Regions from separate parts of the Homo sapiens genome. Here region 2 is linked to region 1. Evidence: promoter capture Hi-C in human tissues and cell types (Jung and others, 2019). All regions are on one chromosome and are shown on one strand. The core of a region is centred on a gene start or on the middle of the fragment in contact, and the rest is flanking DNA. Distances in the headings are between cores, read along the strand shown. Region 1 holds the start of ZNF337 (zinc finger protein 337). Region 2 overlaps LOC101926935 (a long non-coding RNA gene).

Evidence for each region. The method cuts DNA at HindIII sites, captures the fragments that hold promoters and counts their contacts. A contact is called where the count stands out against the background at its distance.
Region 2: a fragment that was not itself captured here is called in contact with the fragment with the promoter of ZNF337 in region 1 in 2 of the 25 tissues and cell types used here (H1 embryonic stem cells and dorsolateral prefrontal cortex).

Annotation. Positions count from the first base shown.
Region 1 is chr20:25,694,499-25,699,046 of GRCh38, reverse strand. It overlaps ZNF337 (zinc finger protein 337), which reads left to right and starts at 2,194. Exons shown (of 5, transcript NM_015655.4): 1 at 2,194-2,288. It overlaps LOC107985400 (a long non-coding RNA gene), which reads right to left and starts at 2,006. Exons shown (of 2, transcript XR_007067557.1): 1 at 1,884-2,006. RefSeq lists an enhancer at 2,681-2,790. The HindIII fragment of the contact is 16,641 bases long and covers 1-4,548 here.
Region 2 is chr20:25,846,835-25,851,382 of GRCh38, reverse strand. It overlaps LOC101926935 (a long non-coding RNA gene), which reads left to right. Exons shown (of 3, transcript NR_110001.1): 2 at 71-146; 3 at 2,435-4,548. Among named protein-coding and RNA genes, the nearest start is that of FAM182B, 53 kb to the right of the region's middle. RefSeq lists enhancers at 921-1,445, 2,907-3,407, 3,823-4,324, 4,530-4,548. The HindIII fragment of the contact is 3,050 bases long and covers 305-3,354 here.

The DNA of each region.
Region 1 (4,548 bases), core at 945-3,444:
CACTGCAAAAACTGGATATCCATTTGCAGAAGAATGAAATCTAAAGCAATCCCCTCACCACATATAAAAATCAAATCAAAATGGATTAAAGGTAAATCTAAGACCTGAAACTATAAAACTACTAGAAAAAAACATTGGGGAAACACTCCAGGACATTGGTGTGGACAAAGATTTCTTGAGTAAGACTGCAAAAGCACAAGCACCTAAAGCAAAAGTGGACAAATGAGACCACATCACATAAAAATCTTCTGCAAGCAAAGGAAACAATCAACAAAGTGAAGTGACAATCCACAGAATGGGAGAAAAAATTTGCAAACTATCCATCTGAAAAGAAAGTAATTGCCAGAATATATATAAGGAGCTAAAACAACTCAATAGGAAAAAGACAATCTGATATTTTAAATGGAGAAAAGATCTGAATAGGCATCTCTCAAAATAAGATATATGAACGGCCAACAAGTGTATGAAAAAAAATGCTCAATGCCACTAATCATCAGAGAAATGTAAATCAAAACCGCAATGAGATATAATGTCACCCCAGTCAAGATAGCTTTTATTCAAGAGACAGGCAATAGTGAATACTGGTGAGGGTGTGGATACACCCTCATACACTGTTGTTAGGAATGTAAATTAGTACAACCACTATGGAGAGCAGTATGGAGGTTCCTCAAAAGAATTAATAAATATATACATGATCCCGCAATCCCACTGCTGAGTATATATCCAAAAGAAAGGAAATCAGTATTTCAAGGATATATCTGCACTCTCATGTTTACTACAGCACTATCCAAAATAGTAAAGATATAGAATCAAAGTGTCTATCAACAGATGAATGGATAAGGAAAGTGTGGTACATTAACACAATGGGATATTAGCCAGTCATTAAAAGAATGAAATTCTGTCATTTTCAATAGCATGTATGAAAATGGAGGACATTATGTTAAGCGAAATGAGGCACAGCATGACAAATATCACATGTGCTCACTCATTTGTGGGGCTAAAAACGTGAACTCATGGAGATGGAGAGTAGAATGAGATAGTTAACAGAGGCTGGGAAGGATGGTGGGTAGAGGAGATAAAGAGGGACTTGTTAATCGATACAAAAATACAGTTAGAATGAATAAGATCTAGTAGTTGGTAGCACTATACAGTGACTATAGTTAAGAACAATTTTACTATATATTTAAAAATAAGAGAGAATTGGAAACTTCCTAAAACAAAGAAATGCTAAATGCTTGAGGGGATGGATACCCCAATCACCCTCATTTGACCATTAAACACTGTATGCCTGTATCAAAACATAACATGTACCCTATAAATATGTACAACTAATATTTATCCAGAATAATTAAAAATTTAAAAACCAAAAGAGAAAAAGCAAACAGCAAGTATACCTAGTAAAGGCCTGAAATATAAAGTCTACGTGGTTTGGCAAGCCACAAAAGATATCAGCATATTATACACCCTACATAATGAAAGAATTCTGGCATTGATGCATAATTAGATAAATGGGGGAACAATTAGAAATTGAAATGCAAATGTAAATTGAGTATACTGAATTATGTAGCTGAAACCTTAAATTATTTGGTAAAAGACTATATTTTTAATAAATTTAATGGGAAATTAATAAAATATTAGAAAATTTTAAAAATAATTGTATATTTACAGTGTGTACCTGGAGAAAAATTAAACCATTGAGAGATCTAAATGTGAATGATAAAACCACAAAATCCGTAGGAAAATCAGAGATCAAAAGTACTACATAGCAAAAAAAAGAAACAAAAGAAAAAAAAAAGACATACCCATAATCAAAAGACAGTGGGAAAATTATTTACCTATATCATAGAAATGGGAAAATATGCTTAATGTATGTATAGGGCTACCTAAATAAAAGAAATCGCCGGTTCTGAAAGGATCCCTCCACGTCCAAACGACCATAGGCTCGCCCCACCTGTCAGAGAGGAGTCCTTCCGAGAAGTCCTTCCAAGGATTCCGGGTCGCGCAGTCCCGGGTGGACCGCTATGACCAATATTCTGGGGCGTGTACCTGGACGACTCCCGAGGACTCTGGGGAGTGTAGTCCACCGAGGGGATGCGACGCGCAGGGTCGCATAGCCTCCGGGCCGCGCCGAGGATGCTGGGTAGCGTAGTCCCGGCCGCGCTGAGGATTCTGGGTAGTGTAGTCCCGGGCGGCGCAGAGCGTTCCAGATCCCTGGGCGTCAGCGAGCCGTGAGATGCGTGGTCCACCATCGGTGACCTCACCGCCTCGGTTCGCCCTCAGCCGCCCCGGTGAGCTGCGCTCCTGCGGGTCCCTCTCTGCAGCGCGCCCTTCCGGCGCAGGAAGAAGGGCCGGGAAGGCCTGGGACGTGAGGGCGCTGCTGGGGCCGTAGCGCGCGCTCCTCCAGGCCCGGCGTCTCCGCGTTCTGGGGAGGGGCGGAGACCCAGGCCGCGCCTTGAAGTGGGCGGTGGGGCTGCGGCTTGCCGAGCGCCCCGGGTCTGGGCCGCCACTCAGTCTCCGTTCCCGGTTGCGTGTAGTGGCGGCTCGGGCGGTGAACAGCCCGGATTTCACAGGGGCGCCGAGCAACCCAGGTCCTCTTGTGCCAGGGTCGCCGCTCCTCGGGTGGGGACGGGCCAGCGGCCTAGCGAGCTGCCACGGGGGTCTTTTGGCCGGAGGTGGAGGGGGACTCGGCCACAGCCAGGGTCCACTGGTGGGGTGGGGGTTACAGCCATGAGACGGATGGGCTAGGTCCGACTCGGGTTCCCTCCGACTCTGATGCTCCAGACTTTATTGTGGGAGGCGGGACAGGGGAGGACTTCGCCCGCGTGTTTTGGGGAAGGGCCGCTGCTTTGGGTTGGGAGCACCCCGCCTTGGGACGATCTTCCGCGGATAGGAGTGTAGGCCGGGACCAAATGTCCTCGCACGGGCACGTCTAGACGTGTTTTGGTGGGGGGGGGGGGGGATCTGCGTGGGGCAGCGTCCGCGGGAGGTGAGGTGGCTGTGGGGACCCAGGTGGCCTCTTCCCTGGGGCCTTGCTAATGACGGCAAAATCCGGGTTCTGCCAAAATATATTTAAAAAGGTTTATTCCTAGTCAGTATGAGTGACTGTGGCCCAGGTTATTCAGCCTCAAGAGGTCCTGTGAAAGTGCCCGAGATGGTCAGGCTTGCAGGTTAATTTTATACAATTCAGGGAGACAGGAATTTCAGGTAAAGTCATAAATCAGGCTGAGCAGTGTGGCTCATGCCTGTAGTCCCAGCACTTTGGGAGGCCAGGAGTTCCAGAGCAGCCTGGGCAGCACAGCAAGACCCTGTCTCTACATGAAATTAGAAAAATAAAAAAATTAGCGGGGCGTGGTGTCCCATGCCTGTGGCCTCAGCTACTTGGGAGGCCCAGTCAGTTGAGTCCAGGAGGTGGAGGCTGTAACCAGCTATGTTGGCTGCACTGCACGCTAGCCTGGGTAACACAGCGAGATCCTGCCTCCAAAAAGAAAATCATAAATCAATAAGAGAAAGATATACACGGGTTCCTCCCAAAAAGCTGGTATATCTCCAAAGGGTTTACACCTCATGGGGGCACTTAGGGATTCTTTAGTGGACAGTTGGTTGAGAGACTTAAGCTACTGCCTGAAGACTGGAATCAGAAGCATGCCAGAGTTAAGGGGATTGCGTAGATCAAAGTTCTTATTATGTAGATGAAGCCTCTTAGTTGGCAACTCTCAGAATAGATGGTAAATGTCTGTTTTCAGTTTTTTGGGTTTTTGTGTTTTTGTTTTTGTTTTTAGAGAGAGTCTTGCTCTGTCGCCCAGGCTAGAGTGCAGTGGCGTGATCTCAGCTCACTGCAACCTCCACCTCCCAGGTTTGAGCAGTTCTCCTGCCTCAGCCTCCTGAGTAGCTGGGACTACAGGCGCCCGCCACCACGCCTGGCTAATTTTTGTATTTTTAGTAGAGATGGGGTTTCACCATGTTGCTGAGGCTGGTCTTGACTTCCTGACCTCAGGTGATCCACCCACCTCTACCTCCCAAAGTGCTGGGATTACAGGCGTGAGCCACCGCGCGTCAGGCTGGCTGTCTCTTCCAGACCTAAGAAAGGCTTAGAACAAAGGAGGTCTGGCTACATTAATGGAGATTCGCTGCAGATGCAAATTTTCCCACTAAAGATAGCTTTGCGGGGCTATCCATTTCAATCTGTTGCCCCTGTGGCAGCCACTTCAAAACATGTCAAAGAAGTATATTTTGGGGTAAAATAATTTCCTTCAGCATCTGCTGTCATGTGATGCTGTACCAGAGTCAGGTTGGAAAGTGAGCCTCATTATATAAGAGTAATAAAACTCATCTGATGAGATTTTATGGTTTCTCGGGCAGGATTCCCCAAGCCTCATACATAGGCATTTGGGCAAGGGAAAAAAGGTGAATTTAGTCCTCACCAGGTTGGTAGGGCTTCCTCGGTTATTGGAGTGGGAGTAACAGCAACCATTGGGCCCAGCAGTTTTTTTAAATGTCTCTGGGGCTGTGGACTGACCATCCAAATAACTGATTTTAATCATTTCATTA
Region 2 (4,548 bases), core at 580-3,079, 150 kb before region 1:
GTAAGAGCAGATTTATATATGTATGTATGTATGTATGTATGTATGTATGTATGTATGTATGTATTTTCAGAGAAGCAGGGAATCTGGAATTTTGGGTGAAATGTCTGTTTCCAGAAGCTGAAAATGCTCTCAAATGGAAAATTCAGGTTAGCCTATATCAAGCTTCTCCTTGTTCTATGTGTGAAGACCATGGGACAGAGGGAGCAGCTTGAGCCAAGTCAGGATGGTAGGATGGGACAGGTGGCCAGGGCTGCTGCACTGGGGACCCTGGTGGAGGATTTCGCTGGAAACGCAGGTGGGACCAGACCATGAAGAGTCTCAAACACAGACTTGAGGACTCTGACCTTTATCCTGGGGGCAGCAAGAAGCCATGTTAGGTGAAGGAACAAGGCTGTTTCTCCCTCAGCACTAGTGCAAGGAAAGGCCAGGGAGGCCCTCAGTGGAAGCTTGCTGCTGGATTTGTTGATGTGCCTTTTCTCCTGCCTGCACTGGGGTCAGAATGGCCTTGGGTACTGCACACTTCCTACCAGGAATAGAAGGCCCCACAGCTATAGCACCTCTCTTCCTTTTAGTTCTTTGGAAGGATGAGCAAATTATTCACCCTCTCTGAGCCTCAGTTTTCTCATCCATAAAATGATGACAGTTCACCAACCTGGCAGGTCACAAGGATGTTATGAAATCAGGTGAGCACAGCATAGCAGGTGTATTTTTGGGTCCTATTATTACATGTGAACTAAATTGCCTTGTAGAAAAGGCACAGGCTCAGGGGACCTGTGTTTCAATCCCACTATGCCCCTGTAATGCCCACCTCTCAGGGATGATGGAAAGATTAAGTTCACGGAGATGATGCTTGTGCAGCATCTGATACCCAGCAGATACCTAAGAACCTAACCTACCACCCACCTGAGCAAGCACAACAGTCCTGCTCCTCCTGCAAGCACTGGGGATGCTGCCTCCCACCCGCCTTAGAACACTGCTCCTCCTCCCTCTCTGCAGGGGGCATTTTGTAGGCCTCAGTCGCTGGGCTTGCTGTCCTCTCACCTGCCTCTCAGCACGGGGCTCAGAGCACACATTCTTCACCTTTGCAAGAAGCTTCTCTACGCATCCTTGCCCCTAGGCTTGCTGAGTGCATTCACCTGTTGTCTTATTTATAATCAGGACAGAGTTGCTCCCTACTGTGTAGATGAGGAAATGGAGACCTAGAAAGGGAAGGAAAGACCAACACTTTGAGCACCTGCAATGTGCCTGAGGCAATGTACGCATTAGCTCTGCTTCACAGCAGCCCAAGAGGGAGGTATTATTCTTCCCCTGTGTAAATGTGGGTGTTGAGGCTCAGAGAAGGGCAGTGACTTGTCCAAGGTCACATAGCAAGCAACCGTCAGTGGCTGAGGGCTAACCCAGGTCTTTCTGACTTCAGAGTGTGGGATTTAGAACAAACATTTGCAACGTGAGATTGACAGATCCATCCCCCAGTGCCATTCCAAAGACCAGATGGGGTCATAAGTGTGTGAGTACCTGACATGGTGCCCAAGGACTGGGAGTAGAAGCAGAATCCCATCCACCTCCACCTAATCATACAGAGAAAGGAGACAGGAGCTGAGGGAGGGCAGTGCTATGTCCAAGCTCTCAGCAAGCAGTAGGCAGAGCCCAGGCCCCTGCTTTCCCATGCCCACCCCTTCCCAGTTCAGGGCAAGGCCACCTCTCCAGGGCCTTTCCCTCCCCTAGAGAGGAAACTCCCCAAGTTCCTCTGACCAGACAGGAGAGTGAACGAGAGAAGAAAATTCCACTTCAGCACACACACCTGGAGCCTGAGGCTGAAAGCTGGAATCCCAGACTTTGACACTCAAGAAGGCATCTCCACACTTTTTCAGCACCTCCACCTGGGACATTCATGAGCACCTGGCTTCCCTCCCAGGGGAGAGGGGTGTCCCAGAGACACTGGGGCCCTTAGAAGGCACTATGAGTTGGCAGTGACTGCAGCAGCGTGGTGGGATTGTGGGTGGTGTAGGAAGCAGGGGAAGCAGATCACAGCACTCAGGATGGCCAGAGCTGAAGGCATCAGAGTCCCCTGTCCTTGTTCTGCAAAAAAAAAAAAAAAAAAAAAACCCACGGCATATTCCCTTCCCACTCCACACCTCCCACGGTCAGCAGTAGGCCCCAGAGGAGGAGAAGCGAGGCCTCAGGAGGACAGCAGCCACTGCTGGCAAGACGTTGGTGTTCTCCTGTTGAACTGCACAGGTTGTCAGCATCAGACAAGGTCGCTCTGTGACCATGATGGGTCAAGACAAAGCAAGGTCACTTGGTAGCTATCATGGCTCAGCTCATGCAAAACATGGACAAAAATGACCTCACACCCCCTCCCCTGTGTCTATGTCATGACCACTACCTCTGTCAATTGCAGCGTTAGCTTTGGTCTTGTCTTCCTTCCTTCTAGGTAAGATTGGGGAAGATGCCAGGTGATAGAATCCACCCTGCCTCTGACAGCATCCAATCTGGAGCAAAGGCTTCTTTCAACCTTCCCCCAAGCTCCCAATACAAGCCCAAATTCTGGAACAAGTCCTTTCCAACACCTCCTTCAGAGAAGCTCCCTGGCTCCAGGCAGTGCTTGCTCCCCTCACTGCAGCAGGAAGCCTAACTTGCGAACTGCAGGTGTGCTCCAGGTGGTCACTGGATGCAAGGTATTGACAGATGGATCCCATTGATACCCCCACTGCATAACCATGTAAGCCTATCATCCCCCACTTGCACATGAGGAAACGGAGGTCCACAGGGTGGGGAAGGGAAGACATAATTTGTCCTTCAAATGCGATACCGGTGAGATGTGAGAGGCAGCATCCCTCATAACTCAGCAAGGCAGTGGGCACACTAGGACCCTCCCAGGCAGATCGGGTGCGTGGTCGCCCCCATTGCATAGCATGGGTGGGAGTTGGGGAGACCAGACATGGGTCTCACCACCTCTGCACTGGCCCGACCTCTCTGCAGGCCCCCAGGACAGGGTTAGCATCTGCTTGCTGGCAGGCCTGGCCACCAGAAGTATTTGCTTATGTCTAAGGTCCCTGTAGTTGTGGTTCACAGGATTGGGGCTGCTCCTGAGATTCAGCACCACACAGGCACTGCATGGAACTGTGCTATGGTGGTGGGCACTCGCTTTCCAGATAGGGCCCATGTTGCCAGCAGGCATGATGCATCATTTACCCTACCCTGAGTGCAATATGTGGTTTTATAGAAAAAAACTTGGGCCAGATGCGGTGGCTCACACCTGTAATCCCAGCAGTTTAGGAGGCCAAGGTAGGCGGATCAAAAGGTCAGGAACTCAAGACCAGCCTGGCTAATATAGTGAAACCTTGTCTCTATGAAAAATACAAGAATTAGCCAGATGTGGTGGTGGGCACCTGTAGTCCCAGCTACACCGGATACTCCGGAGGCTGAGGCAGGAGAATCGCTTGAACCCAGGAGGCAGAAGTTGCGGTGAGCCAAGATCATGCCACTGCACTCCAGCCTAGGCGACAGAGCAAAACTCCTTCTCAAAAAAAAAAAAAAAAAAAAAAAAAAGAAAGAAAAGGAAAAGTATTTGTAGATGAATGAAGGTGATTCCTTTGAATATTGAAAATGATTTTATTTTAGCCATTGGTCTGACACTCATTCCGATGGGGTGACATGTGTCCCTGCCTTAGTCATCAGAGCACAGGAGTTTGCTACACCTCCCCTCATCTGAAGATTCAGCCCATGAGCAGGAACGCCTGTCTTTGTGTCATACCAACAGAGAGGATGTGTCTGGTTTCACCATTCACTGCAGAGGCAGAAATTACCCAGAAAGAAGAGACAGTCTGTTCCCGGGAGTGTGTCCTTTTGACCCCGCATGGGGGTCATCTCCCTTCCTTGGCCAGGACCCCCAACCTGAACACAGAGGTAGAGAACATGTGAAGGGCTCCCATTCCCAGGTGGTCCAGGGTGCAAGCTCTGAGCCTGTGGTCCTGGTCACTGCCCTTTTCTCCACAGCATGGCAGTCACCATCCTGGGCTGGGGTACAGAGGGGCTTTGCAGAGATCAGCATAACAAAAGCATCACTGAGATGCTGCAATAGGAAACCGTGATACCTTCGTGGGCTGCCAAGGCAGCCTAAGCTATTTGTTGCTGCACTCAGTGTCCCCAGACAGCTGTGTGGCTGTCACTGCCTCTGATGTGTCCATTTTACTTCTCTTCTCCTGCCTCAGCTTCTGCTCTGAACTCTGTCTCTAACTTACAAGAAATCAAGCTCACTGGATTCTGAGCTCTTCGGGGTCAAGGACTGTGTCAGTAGTTCATGTCTCTTTCTAGAGATCACAGCTTAGTATCTGGCACAGAGCAGATACTCAGCCAATGCCAAATGATTCATTTGCCAGAAGGCTGAATATCATCCATAATCCTAGTCAATGCAAATACATTTTGCCGGTGGGGTGTGTTTGTCCTCTGAAGGCGTTTTCCCAGGCTTTGTAAATACATACAGGCCATTTAGAAATTTGAATGTCAAAGAGTAAAGGAGCTTAGAAAGTAAGCATTGGAGAAGTG